Linked DNA regions of Homo sapiens: regions 2 and 3 are each linked to region 1. Evidence: promoter capture Hi-C in 16 types of primary human blood cells and fetal thymus (Javierre and others, 2016). All regions are on one chromosome and are shown on one strand. Each heading gives the region's core, a stretch centred on a gene start or on the middle of the fragment in contact. The rest is flanking DNA. Distances are from core to core; before and after follow the strand shown. Region 1 holds the start of PEX39 (peroxisomal biogenesis factor 39). Region 2 overlaps UBR2 (ubiquitin protein ligase E3 component n-recognin 2). Region 3 overlaps UBR2 (ubiquitin protein ligase E3 component n-recognin 2).

Region 1 (4,592 bases), core at 205-2,704:
GGAGGCAGAGGTTGCAGTGAGCCGAGATCACACCATTGCACTCCACCTTGGGCAACAAAAGCAAAACTCTGTCTCAAAAAAAAAAAAAAAAAAAGTGCCAGCGTATGAGGTAATTAGATTGGTTCTCTCCAGAGGTAACCTGCCAAGAAGAGATGCTATAGATGTTACTCCTATACTGTAAAACATTGTGAAATCAGATTACTTTAAAATGATGTATTACAAAGTTATGCAAAAAAGCAGTTGTGACTATGGAAGCCCAAGGCTTATATCCCAGCTCTGTCTTACACTAAATATGGGTACAGTGTTTCCACTCTGTCCATAAAATGGGAGCTAATATTCTCCAACCTGTGTGCCTGACATGATGGTTAAAGGGATTAAACAAAACAATAGTTTGTAATTTATTCTGTCAGAGCAAACTGCTGGTAAATAAAAGGGACTAAGTTGACGAAAAATAAATTTTAAAAAACCTAATAAAACAAGTTTGTAATTTATAATTGTATACAAATAAAAGATGTTACAAAAATTGCGCACTTATATGTATGTACCATGACATAACTAATTCGTTGAACAAGTTGTGAGACAATCCTTTCTGAGAAAAGGTAGACCTGTTACATCGTCTGTGGGTTAGGGTCATGTCAGCACGTACCAGGTACATTCTAGCTTTTGTAGAGAAAGTAAAATCTAGTGTTGAGTATGTAGGCACTGAGCCAGGTGGCCTGCTTAACATAAAAGGACTGATTTCAGGGTGGCTGTGGGAGCCTTTCTAATGCTCTAATTCTCTAGCCCCTTGCCTGATCCAGCTGATTCCAAGAGCCAAGATTTTAGTCTTTCTTGGTTGGCTTTTTTAAATGCTTTGGGCTTTCCTTTAATGTATCTTCAAAATCATTCTGGGGCCAAGTTACATCATAAAACATTTTATTACATATAAGGACTGAAACAGGATTTTTCTTAACTGTAACATGGTCCACAAATGTAAATGCAAAACCCCCATGGTGGTTGCAGGAGCAAGTCTAGTTGAGACAGGTCAGGACGAAAGCATAAAAGATGAGTAACTGAATGGCATCCCGGGTCCTGTAGCCACGCCCTCCAGATCGCCGCCGCAAAGGACCTGGAACCTCAGGGGCCCACTGTATGCCATGAAGAAGGCGCAGTCGCTGCCTCAACCAAGCCAGGCTCCGCCGGGGCCGTTCCTATCCTGAGGGTCGGAGGGGGAAGGGACTCAGCCAAAGCCGCGGCCTCCCAGGGCTTGGGCCTCCGCGGCAGCCGGGACGCTGTGGGTTCGCCGTGGATCGCCGCGATGTGGCGTTTCTCCAGGCCCGGGAGTTCCTGGCCCTGCTGGACCAGCTGCAGGAGCTGCGCCAGGGTAACCGAAGCTGAGGCAGAGGCCGGGGCCGAGCATTGGGGACTGCGGGGACGCTCCATGTCGGGTCGCGAATCCTGACCGGCGTGTAATGCAGAGAAGCGAGCACTTCCGGGCCGAATGGGTGCAACCACCATGGGGGAGGTGGGGAAAGGAAAGGGAGGCTGTAGACCGTACCAAGCCGGCCCAGAACTGGGGGAGCACTTGACAACTCTGACCAGCTCCCTGCAGAAACGCTTTAGAAGCGTCCACGATTTAGCCAAACCCAGAGTGCCCAACGGACGCGCCAAAGAAGAAAAACGGACGGACGTGCCAAAACTTGAAGGCTAGCACAGGACAGAACAAGCCTGCGGACGCGCCGCTGCGGGCAAAAAGACCCATACATACATAAGCACCGCGCACATGCCCATTTTCATGCACACCCCCGGGCGCGCGTACAAGGATTCAGATACAACGCATGGCGGGGGATAATCCCCATACTAGGCTCCGCAGCACGGGACAAAGCATAACTGTAGAGTTGTTCCCAGAGGCCTCAGGAGTGACACCGCCACCAAGCCACGCTACTCTCTTAGTTGTTATTATTGTTTTGTGTTGTTTTAGACGGAGTCTCACTCTGTTGCCCAGGCCGGAGTGCAGCGATGCGATCTCAGCGCACTGCAACCTCCGCCTCCTGGTTCAAGCGATCCACAGGGTCCCTAGTGCCTCAGCCTCCCTAGTAGCTGGTGTATGCCACCAAGCCCAGCTAATTTTTGTATTTTTAGTAGAAACAGGGTTTCACCATGTTGGCTAGGCTAGTCTCGAACTCCTGACCTTAAGTGATGCACCCGCCTCAGCTTTCCAAAGTGCGGGGATTACAGGTGTGAGCCACCGCACCCAGCCAGAGCCTCACCACTTTCTTCACACTTCCTGCCATCCTTCAATTCTTGGTGGTCCCAGAGAAGATCGAAGGTGAAAGCAGGTCAGATGTGCTACAGCTGCTCTGACTGCTCGGAAAGTCAGGTTTTTAAATTATCAAAAGTGGCCGGGCACGGTGGCTCACACTTGTAATCCCAGCACTTTGGGAGGTGGAGGCAGGTGGATCTCAAGGTCAGGAGTTTGAGACCAGCCTGACCAACATGGGGCAACCCCCGTCTCTACTAAAAATACAAAAATTAGCTGGGTGTGGTGGCATGCACCTGTAATCCCAGCTACTCAGGAGGCTGAGGCAGGAGAATCGCTTGAACCTGGGAGGCAGAAGTTGCAGTGAGCTGAGATTGCAGCACTGCACTCTACCCTCGGTGACACAGCAAAACTCTGTCTCAAAAAAAAAAAAAAAAAGTATCAAAAGCTAGACTGATCTGGTGAACATCACCTTAATCAAAGAATCAAAGCTTAATGGCCAGGCGTGGTGGCTCACACCTGTAATCCCAGCACTTTGGGAGGCTGAGGTGGGCAGGTCACCTGAGATCAGGAGTTTGAGACCAGCCTGGCCAACATGGCGAAACCCCATCTCTACTAAAAATACAAAAAAATTAGCCAGGCATAGTGGTGCGCACCTGTAATCCCACCTACTTGGGAGGCTGAGGCAGAAGAATTGCTTGAACCTAGGAGGCAGGGAGGTTGCAGTGAGATGAGATCACACCACTGCACTCCAGCCTGGGCAACAGAGTGAGACTCAGTCTCAAAAAAAAAAAAAAAAAAAAAGCTTAATAGGACAAACTGGCCTTGTGTGCCTTCTGATGTGATGCACTGGGAAGGACACACACACGGGGAGTACATTTCTGTAGTAGTCCTCCCCAAAATGCCCAAAAAATGTTCACTCACCACCTAGTCTTGAGGAAATAGAGATCAAAGTGAGAGAGATTCTGCAAAATGATTGGTCTGGACACTTTACAGATGTCGTTGTTATAAAACATTAAGAAAAAGCTAAGAACTACCCCAGATTAAAGGAGACATAAAAAATAAATACAGGCCAGACACAGTGGCTCATGCCTTTAATCCCAGCACTTTGGGAGGCTGAGGTCGGTGGATTGCTTGAACTCAGGAATTCAAGACCAGCCTGGGCAATATAGCAAAACCCCATCTCTACTAAAAAATACAAAAAAAAAAAATTGCTGAACATGGTGGTGGACACCTGTAGTCCCAGCTATTCTGGAGGCAGTGGTCGAAGAATCGCTTGAACCCGGGTAGGTGGAGGTTGCACTGAGCTGTGATTGCCAGCAACTTCCGACTGGGAGACAGAGTGAAACTCTGTCTCCAAAAATAAAATAAAATATAAATAAATAAATAAATTCAATGAGTGATCCTGGATTAGATGCAAGATTGTGTAGGGGAGATCAGCTCTAAAGGACATTTTACCCTTGGGGAAATTTGAATATGATCCATATATTAGATGACAACGATATATCAATGTTAAATTTATCAAGTGTGATAATTGTGGTTATGTGTGGGAATTACCTTGTTCATAGCAAATACATTCTGAAGTATGTAGAGGTGAAGTGTCATGATGACAGAAAGAAAGCAAATGTGGCAAAATTGCTAAGAATTAGTGAATCCACGTGAGGGTTTGAAACTTGTCAAAATAAAAAGTTGGGGTAGGCCCGGTGCAGTGGCTCACGCCTATAATCCCAGCACTTTGGGAGTGGTCAAGGCAGGAGGATCACTTGAACCCAGGAGTTCAAGACTAACCTGGGCAACATAGTGAGACCCCCTCCAAAAACAAAAATTGGCTGGATGTGGTGGCACACACCAGTAGTTCCAGCTACTTGGAAGGCTGAGGCTGGAGTATCACTTGAGCTCAGGAGGTTGAGGCTGCAGTGAGCCAAGATTGTTCCACTGCACTCTAGCCTGAGCAACAGAGACTCTGTTAAAAAAAAAAAAATTGGGGTAGGGGGCACTTGGTAAGAGCTTGAGAAGCCAGTCTGGAGGAAACTGACCATATTGAATGTTGTATAATAAAGAATTTTGAAGGGGTGGCCTGCCCCTCCACACCTGCGGGTATTTCTCGTCAGGTGGGACGAGGGACTAAAAAAAGAAATAAGACACAGAGACAAAGTATAGAGAAAGAACACTGGGCCCAGGAGACCAGCGCTCAGCGTACGGAGGACCTGCACTGGCCCCAGTCTCTGAGTTCCCTCAGCATTTACTGATTATTATTTTCACTGTCTCAGCAAGGGGAATGCAGCAGGAGAACAGGGTGATAGCGGGGAGAAGGTCAGCAAGAAAACATGTGAGCAAAGGAATCTGTGTCACA
Region 2 (4,675 bases), core at 1,642-4,141, 260 kb before region 1:
AACAGGCATAAGCCACTGCACCCAGCCTATTTTTTTTTTTTGATACCCCTAAAGACAATTAGAATCTAATCCAAAATTGTGCAGTATGTGAACCATCTCTGTTAACATTCACCTGAAACTAAAAATGCTAGTAAGTGCCTTGGTTTGGTGGGGGTTTACATTCTAACAATATCGTCTCTCCACCAAACTTCCTCTTACTGCCTGCTTTAAGTCCTGAAGTTTTCAAACTCAGTTTTATATTTACAGATTTTCTACTTATCTGCTGACTTTAGAATTTAACATCTATATTAGAATACAGTTTTAATATATTCTTAGACTTCTGTCTTCTGCATTTTTGTTTCTGCTTATTTGGGGTTTTTTTGTTTTTTGTTTTTAAGACAGGGTCTCACTCTGTCGCCCAGGCTGGAGTGGCGTGATCATGGCTCACTGCAGCCTTGACCTCCCAGGCTCAGGTGATTTTCCCACCTCAGCCTCCCAGGTAGCTGGGAATACAGGTACATGCCACCACACCCAGCTAATTGTTTTATTTTTTATAGAGACAGGGTTTCACTGTGTTGCCCAGGCTGGTCTCGAACTGGGCTCAAATAATCCGCCTGCCTCAGCCTCCCAAAGTGCTGGCGTTACAGACGTGAGCTACTGCACCTGGCCTTGTTCTACGTTTTGATGAAACTTTTTCTGTTGCTAATTACCTAATCTTGACTTATGCGAGGCCTGTTTAAGTTGTCACCCAGCATCAATAACACTCTAGAATCCTAGGAGAGATTAGCTGTTGAGGCTGGAAAATGTCAGGGTGAGGATCCATGATCTTTTGTATCAGAGTGCAAAATGAAGTATTCAAAGTAACATTAGACTTTCTGACTCTATTAGGGCAGAGATTAACACCATCAAAATGGCAAAGAGCAAAATGTTTGAAGTTATATTGTGTTATGGAGGGCATGAGAGGGCATGGCCCACATTGTAGGTAGAAAGAGAAATTGTTGAGCCTCTTTGTGGAAACAATTTGGTGATATCATTAAAATTTATTATGTGCATACTCTTTAACCGATTACTTCCACTTTTAGGAAATTACTCTATAAATATTCCTACAACTATACACAGTGGATATTTGTTGCAACATCTTTTTTAATAGCATAAAACTGGAAACAACCCAAATGTCTGACCAGTAAAAGCTTGGCTAAATAAAATCTGATACAAAAGTAGACCTGGTTAAAAAGAATGACGAGCATTTGTATGAACTGATATGGGACATTGTCCCATATCAAGTAAAAAAATGTACAAAACAATATAATATGCTATCTTTTGTAGGAAAAAGATAGATATACATACTTGTGTATACTTAATACACACTTTATGTATTTATACATTTTATATATGTGTGTGTATTATGTAGTATATACTCTGATTTTATATATATATATATATATATATATATATAAATACAGGTTCTGTAATTATATATATATAAAATACACATACATATACCATCTCTGCAAGAATATGCAAGGAACTACGATTAACAAGATTTGCCTTTAGAAAGAAGACCTCAGGAGCTAGGAGACTCCCTGTTGCATTTAGTATGATTTACATGTATTTGCTTATTTAAAAAAAAAAAAAATATATATATATATATATATATGTACACACATGCACACACACACAAACAAAAAATAAATCTCAACTAAGGAAATAAAGAGAAAATATTGTTTCATACTGAGTTCTAGAGAATCTGTGTCGTAAACCTCTGGATCCTAGAATAACTATACCATACCATTATAGGTGTCTAAATGTCTCAGTTAAGGAAAATTTGCAGCCTGATTCAGAGCCCCCACCCTGAATTTATCTTTGAGTAATGAGCCTTGGAACTGTCTTCTAACATTCTGGCATCTTTCTGGCATCTGGTATAATTGTTGCTTCATACACATGGCAATTGGAGTAAGTAATTGTTATTTAGAAATACACAGTAATGCATTTATGATATATAGTTGTGTTGAAAAAGGTTTAAACTGAAGGAGCTAAACAATGTTGGTGACTTTTTTTTTAGTCTTCCTAGTACATAGTTTTTGATTACCATGCACTCTGATAAACTTTGTTTTTAGGCTCGAATGCTCATCACAGAAGAAAACTTAATGAGCATTATCATTAAGACTTTTATGGATCATTTGAGACATCGAGATGCCCAGGGCAGATTTCAGTTTGAACGATACACTGCTTTACAAGCCTTCAAATTTAGGAGAGTACAGAGCCTTATTTTAGATCTCAAGTAAGTTTTCATTTAATTATTAAACCAGTTGCAATTTATAGAAAGTCAATGTTTATGTTAATTGCCACTGTCACTTTTATCTTGTTCAGGTATGTGTTAATTAGCAAACCAACTGAATGGTCAGATGAGCTGAGGCAGAAGTTCCTAGAAGGGTTTGATGCCTTTTTGGAATTACTAAAATGTATGCAGGTATGTAAAAACTGTTACACTTTTCTTTTTCCTTTTTTTTTTTTCTCTTTTCTCTTTTTTTTTTTTTTTTTAATTTTTCTTTTTCTTTTTAAGAGATGGGGGTCTCACTGTGTTGCCCAGGGTGGAGTGTAGTGGCTAGTCATAGACACAACCATAGTGTACTATACCTTTGAACTCCTGGTCTCTGGCAGTTCTCCTGCCTCAGCCTCCAAAGTTGCCTGGGACTAGAGGCGCAGGCACGGGCCCAGGCCCAGCTTCTTTGTTGTTGTTGTTGTTGTTGTTGTTGTTGTTCATTGAAATGAACAGCTTTCTGTCTGCGCATCTTTTCATTTCGTGCACATTTCCAAAAGATCAATTTGGATGGCTGCAATTCTGACCAGGAAGCTCCTCTTTAATTGGAAATTCTTAGAAAGGTATGGAGCAAAGGAGATCCCAGCAAACATTCCGGCATCTACTGCTCTTGGGTTTTTTCTGTGTTGGTTTTTTTTGTTTTGTTTTGTTTATGAGATGGAGTCTCACTCTGTCGCCCAGGCTGGAGTGCAGTGGCGCAATCTCAGCTCACTGCAATCTCCACCTCCAGAGTTCAAGTGAATATCCTGCCTCAGCCTCTCAAACAGCTGGAATTACAGGTATACACCACCACACCAGCTAATTTTTTGTATTTTTAATAGAGATAGGGTTTCACCAAGTTGTCCAGGCTGGTCTCGAACTCCTGACCTCAAGTGATCCACCCACCTCAACCTCCCAGAGTGCTGGGATTACCGGCATGAGCCACCGCACCTGGCCAGTTTTTGGGGTTGTTTTTTTGTTTGTTTTTTGTTTTGTTTTGTTTTGTTTTGTTTGAGACATAGTTTTTCACTCTGTTGCCCAGGCTGGAGTACAATGGCACAATCCTGGCTCACTGCAACCTCCGCCTCCTGGGTTCAAGTGATTCTCTGACCTCAGCTTTTTGAGTAGCTGGGATTACAGGCACCTGCCACCATGCCTGGCTATTTTTTGTATTTTTAGTAGAGACGAGGTTTCACCAAGTTGTCCAGGCTGATTTCAAACTGCTGACCTCAAGTGATCCGCCCACCTCGGCCTCCCAATGTGCTGGGATTACAGGCATGAGCCACTGCGCCAGCCACTTTTATATTTCTTTGGTTTCCACTAATGTTCTTTCTTTAGAGGTTACAAGTTTATTTTTTTAATATGCTTTCTTGGAAGTATAGTCAAGTTATTTGAGAAACTGTAGTGGTTTTTGATTTTGCTTTTTAATGTTTCCATGTTTCTTTTTCTCTCCTTCATGTGGTATTTATATAATACAGTGTAGACCTTTTTCCCCTGTTTAATTCTCTTTTTAGGAAACATCCCTATATACAAAACAGAATCTAGAAGTAGAAACGAACAGGTATATTTAACCAGTTATAACTGTAAGAAGATAGGTGACGTCTCTAAAAATCTGAGCAAGTACTATTATGATTTCTTTAGTAGCCACCTGGCTTTCTTAAGAAAAGGAATGACCAAAGTTGACTTACCATTTTTATTTTTATTTGTTTGAATTTATTTTTATTTATTTATTTATTTTGGAGGTGGAGGTTTGCTCTATCGCCCAGGCGGGAGTGCAGTGGCGCGATCTTGGCTCACTGCAACCTCTGCCTCCCAGGTTCAAGCAATTCTTCTGCCTCAGCCTCCCGAGTAGCTGGGATTACAGGTGCACGCCACCACACCTAGCTCATTTTTGTATTGTTAGTAGAGACAGGGTTTCGCCATGTTGGCCAGGCTGGTCTTGAATTCCTGACCTCAAGTGATCCACCCGCCTCGGCCTCCCAAAGTGCTGGGATTACAGGCGTGGGCCACCATGTCTGGCCTGACTTACCATTCTAGTTCCTAGGTTGGGTGGTAGTTCATGGGTGTTTATTATAATACTACTATGTTTTTCATGTATCTGTGAAAACAATAGCTACTTTGGTCATTTTTGATACTTGAAGTATTCTGTATTCTCTATTGTTTAATAAGTTCTGACATACTAGAATAGTTAGGCTAGTTTCTGAACAGTAATTTTAATTAAAAGCTATTTATTGTTTTGCCTTCTTTCAGGCTCTGTGAAAACTTCTAATTGCATATTAGGACATAATATTAAAACTTTATTATAAAATACAGTTATAAATTCAATAACATTTTAAAAGCTTGTCACATTTCTTTTAACAATTTTTTCTATAGACCATAGAGCTAAAAAGGAAGGAT
Region 3 (5,047 bases), core at 2,156-4,655, 320 kb before region 1:
TTGGTGGGTCATATGTTAACTATTTTGAAGAACTGCCAGATTTTTCCAAAGCAGTTGCATTGTTTTACATTCCCACCAGTAGTGCATGAGAGTTCCAATTTCTCCAGATCCTTGCCAACACTTGTTTTTGCCTGTGTTTTGATTACAGCCATTCTTTTGGGTGTTATGCCTTCTCATTGTGGTTTTGATTTGCATTTCCCTCATGAGTCATGTTGGAACATCTTTTTATGAGCTTATTGGCCATTTTTATGTCTTCTTTGCCTATTTTCAATTAGTCTTTTGACCTATTAAATTTCTATATTTTATTTGTAAATATTCTCCTTAATTTGTAGAGCTCTTAATATAATTTGTTTAAAATTTTTCTCAATATATTCCCTAAAACTCCCACTTAAACACTATTGTTTTTATGGTTATGAGCACTAGTTGTTTTATGATTAACTTACATGTTGCTTATCCTTGTTTGAAAGCAAAACCAAAAGTAGTTAAAGGATACAATTTTAATTGGGTATAGAATAATAGAGACTGTAATAAAAGGCTAACTAACCTCTAGGGATTCTTTCATTTTTCATTTCATTTTTATTTTATTGTACTTGCTTTCTATCCCAAGGCTTAAATTTAGTATTTAATAGAGGGAAAGCTCCTGGAAACATTGTCATAACATGTTTACTTTAGAGGAATGAGTTGACAGTTTCTTTACTTCCCTTAAGAGGGACTTGTAGTAAGATAGTGAATGCTTATTACTCTCTTATGCCACATGGGTGTGACAGCTACAAGTGTCTGAAATAAAGACAAAAGGCCAACCAAACTGGAAATCTTAATTTTTCATGTTGAAGAAACAGTTGCAGTTAGCATATGTTAGAACTAATATGAAAAGCTATAGATTTTATTCTTTGGGGAAATGTGTGAGCTACTTCTGAAAGACAGTCATAAATTTTTCTTGCTTTTTATATTAAGTATGTATGTTTAATCAGCTTAAAGTGCCTGTAATAGAGCCCAAATCTTTTAGGTGATTGTGATTTTTTCATATAATGGTAGTAAAGTTTTTGGTTTTGAGACGGAGTCTCACTCTGTCCTCCAGGCTGGAGTACAGTGGCGTGATCTAGGCTCACTGCAACCTCCACCTCCTGAGGTCAAGCGATTCTTTTGCCTCAGCCTCCCAAGTAGCTGGGATTACAGGCGTGCACCACCACTCCTGGCTAATTTTTGTATTTTTAGTAGAGATGGGGTTTCACCATGTTGGCCATGGTGGTCTCGAACTCCTGGCCTCAAGTGATCTGCCCACCTTGGCCTCCCAAAGTGCTGGGATTATAGGCGTGAGCCACTGTGCCCAGGAGTAGTAAAGATTTGAAAAATGGGGAGCATATGCATGCCTTTCTTGGACCAGACTTTTAAGTCTTGTTATTTATAATAATATGTAATAAAGAGTGAAATACTTGCTTGTTTTACTAATAATATTTTTATGTAAAGTGGCTAGTTTTTTTTTTGTTGTTTGTTTGTTTTTTGAGACAGGATCTCACTCTGTCACCCAGGCTGAAGTGCAGTGGCGTGATCATGCCTCACTGAAGCCTCAACCTCCGGGGCTCAGGTGATCCTCCCACCTCAGCCTCCTGAGTAGCTGGGACTACAGGCATGCACCACCATGCCCAGCTAATCTTCTTTTATTTTTAGAAGAGACAGGGTTTTGCCATATTGCCCAAGCTAGACTCGAACCTCTGAACTCAAATGAGCCACCCGCCTTGGCCTCCCAAGTGCTGGGATTACAGGCATGAGCCAAAGAGCCTGGCCGATTTTTTTTTTTTTTCTTAACCAGAAGCTGATACTAGCGTCTGAATTTTTGTTGAAGAAATCTATGAACAAATTTGCTCTCGTTACAGTTACTAGACTGCATAATTTTTTTTTAGAAAGCATCCATGCTAGCCTGTAGTCCCAGCTACTTGGGAGGCTGAGGCAGGAGAATGGCGTGAACCTGGGAGGCGGAGCTTTCAGTGAGCCGAGATCGCGCCACTGCACTCCAGCCTGGGTGACAGAGCAAGACTCCGTCTCAAAAAAAAAAAAAAAAAAAAAAAAGCATCCCTTCTAAAGTAACCTTTCATTCTTGTATTAAAATTTTGCAACAGTGAAGTTTTACAGGAATGGGAACATAAAATATAAGGAAAAAAACTGGTTTTTAAATAAAATCTTTCAATATGTTGTAAAAAAAAGTCCGAAGCACTTAACTTTCTAGGATCATGGAGGTGAATTATTTTGGTCTTATTGCTTAATTTTTCTTTCATAAAGAGTAAATTGAATCCTAGCACCTTTGGGAGGCCGAGGTGGGCAGATCACCTGATGTCAGGAGTTTGAGACAAGCCTGGTCAACATAGTGAAACCTTGTCTCTACTAAAAATACAAAAATTAGCCGCGTGTGGTGGTGCACACCTGTAACCCCAGCTACTCAGGAGGCTGAGGCAGGAGAATCACTTGAACCTGGGAGGCAGAGGTTGCAGTGAGCCGAGATCGTACCACTGCACTCCAGCCTGGGCGACAGCACGAGACTCAAAAAAAAAAAAAAAAAAAAGCGCTTAGGATCATTTGACTACCTTCATTCTTGTTTTGGTTTGCTGACAATGGGTGAAAAATGAGACATTTACCTTTGAATGAGGCCAAAACGAGGTCTTTTAGCTCAAAGAATAAGATTCTAGTATGCTTGTTGAGGACTCTTTTTCTTTTTTTAAAACTTGTCCTCTTTATAATTACTGAGCTTAAAGGATGTGTATGTATATATAAAATTTTGATTGAGTCACTCTGAAGGGAGAGAATACTTAAAGCCTGTAGGATTGTCTCCTAAGAAATGATGCTGCTGCTGCTGTTTTATTTTTATTTTTATTTTTTTTTCCCTAACCACTTGGCCACCAGGGAAGAAATGCTGTTGTTTTGAAAGTAATTTAGTCTCTTTCCTACTTGCATAATGTAAACACAACAATGTTAGTAATATTTGGAAAATAGTTTAGTTTCACTTTAAGCATGAAAACTCTTTCACCGTTTTTGGTTATAAGCTTCTATCCAGTCCCTTAACTTATGAACAAAATTTTTACATTTTTAGTAAAAGTTCTCTGAAAACAGAAATTGACTAGAAAGTTAATATACATCACCTCATGCATATTTAAAATCTCTCTGTATGTTGTTTTTAGAAGGAGTGGTCTGAAGAATATACAAGTAATAGCTAAAATGAAGACCTTATGTTGACTTCTTATGATGTTACATATCACTTGAACATACTTTTTTTTTTTTTTTAAATAAAAATGTAACTGGAATTAGGTAGTAATCCATAGGTAAACATTGGAGGTTTTTTTTAATTTCAGCTTTTACTTTAGATTTAAGGAATACATGTGCAGGTTTGTTACATGAGTATATTGCACCTGGGTAGTGAGCATAGTACCCAATAGGTAGTTTTTCAACTCACTTCCCCTTCCTCTTTCCCTCCATCTGTGGGTTTTGTTCACGGTTCAGTTAACTGCATTCTAGCAGAAGTGAGTCTTTTTTTTTTTTTGTCCTTTGAGACAGACTCTTGCTCTGTCGCCCAGGCTGGATCTTGGCTCACTACAACCTCTGCCTCCTGGGTTTAAGCGATTTCTCCTGCCTCAGCCTCTTGAGTAACTGTGATTACAGGCATGCGCCACCACATCCAGCTAATTTTTATATTTTTAGTAGAGAAGAGACTTCACCATGTTGGCCAGGCTGGTCTTGAACTCCTGACCTCAGGTGATCTGCTTGGCCTGGCCTCCCAAAGTGCTGGGAAGCTTTTCAGATTTTTCGGTGTGGATACCCAGGTTGAGCTGGAAATGGAGAAAATAACAGATTTTGGTGGAGCATGGAGGGGAGATCATGCATTCAGTTATTGAGTTGGTACCTATGAGATCTAAGTAGAATCATGCTTTAAAATTTGTTTTTAGTGGGGAGAGCAAACGGAAAAGGCCTTATAGAGAGAGAGAAGTTGATCAGAGAAAGAAGGCATAATTGGTACAACAGTCTCTTGTGGACTGACTTATTCAATAAGAGACTGGTATATAAACTTGCTTATCAATCATTAAGAAATGTGTATTGGCTGTTCATGTTCACCGTACATATTGGCTGTTCATATTCACCGTACACTCTTCCTATGGACAAACTGACGTGAGAATTGATATCACAATGAGAATAACATTTGAGCAAAGCATTAGGAAGGACATTAGGTGAGCTCAATGGTTCATATCTTATATAATGATTTCTTGTAATTATTTTCTGGTACTGCCTAGAGAAGATTGCTTCAAGAGTCATTTTGCAGGGAAGGAGGGAGGCTTGTTTCATTTTAATTTTACTTACACTTAAAAGTAGGATTTAAACATACTTGGCATTTTAATAGATTAAATTTCTAACGTACGGTGGTGAGTGTTGTAAACAAAATATTTTAATATGCTTTTGTCATTATTTTTGTACCTAAAAGAAAGTAGGGTGAATTTGTTCAAATTAGTTTGTTGGTGTTTAAAACCATTTCTTCTCTTTTCTTCTTTTAAAGAAATGGCTGCAAGCAACTGACCTCACTAGAGAAGTGTACCAGCATTTAGCCCACTATGTACCCAAAATCTACTGCAGGGGTCCCAACCCTTTTCCACAGAAAGAAGACATGCTGGCACAGCATGTTTTGTTGGGACCAATGGAATGGTACCTTTGTGGTGAAGATCCTGCATTTGGATTTCCAAAACTTGAGCAAGCAAACAAACCTTCTCATCTTTGTGGTCGTGTTTTTAAAGTAGGAGAGCCTACATATTCTTGCAGGTAAAATATTTTAATTTTCTTTCTAGGAGGCTCTTGTTTTATTTGACCTCTTTTTTTCCCTGGAACTTTTGAGTTTTTGTTTAAAAATTATGAAATACCATATCTGCTTAAAAATCTGTATTACAAATACATGCTATTTAATAAATAATTAAAGCAAACATTTTTGTAATTATTCTTGATCAAAAAAAATTGTCACCAGCATTCTTGAAGCCCACTGTGTGCTTTCTTCCTTCCCCCATAATTAACTGACATC

What was found. The method cuts DNA at HindIII sites, captures the fragments that hold promoters and counts their contacts. A CHiCAGO score of 5 or more calls a contact.
Region 2: a contact is called between a fragment that was not itself captured here and the fragment with the promoter of PEX39 in region 1, in 1 of 17 cell types (total CD8 T cells). The highest score is 5.3, in total CD8 T cells.
Region 3: a fragment that was not itself captured here is called in contact with the fragment with the promoter of PEX39 in region 1 in 1 of 17 cell types (total CD8 T cells); the score reaches 5.4 in total CD8 T cells.

What each region holds. Positions count from the first base shown.
Region 1 is chr6:42,889,367-42,893,958 of GRCh38, forward strand. It overlaps PEX39 (peroxisomal biogenesis factor 39), which reads right to left and starts at 1,455. Exons shown (of 1, transcript NM_001008739.2): 1 at 899-1,455. The coding sequence starts at 1,422. The coding sequence ends at 1,117. It overlaps RPL7L1 (ribosomal protein L7 like 1), which reads left to right. Exons shown (of 6, transcript NM_001366481.3): 6 at 1-534. RefSeq lists enhancers at 947-1,796, 1,857-1,906. The HindIII fragment of the contact is 5,960 bases long and covers 1-2,728 here.
Region 2 is chr6:42,630,456-42,635,130 of GRCh38, forward strand. UBR2 (ubiquitin protein ligase E3 component n-recognin 2) reads left to right here. Exons shown (of 47, transcript NM_001363705.2): 12 at 2,097-2,260; 13 at 2,350-2,449. Among named protein-coding and RNA genes, the nearest start is that of UBR2, 69 kb to the left of the region's middle. The HindIII fragment of the contact is 3,448 bases long and covers 1,168-4,615 here.
Region 3 is chr6:42,569,200-42,574,246 of GRCh38, forward strand. It overlaps UBR2 (ubiquitin protein ligase E3 component n-recognin 2), which reads left to right. Exons shown (of 47, transcript NM_001363705.2): 2 at 4,535-4,794. Among named protein-coding and RNA genes, the nearest start is that of UBR2, 7.7 kb to the left of the region's middle. RefSeq lists enhancers at 3,561-3,620, 3,711-3,760. The HindIII fragment of the contact is 744 bases long and covers 3,034-3,777 here.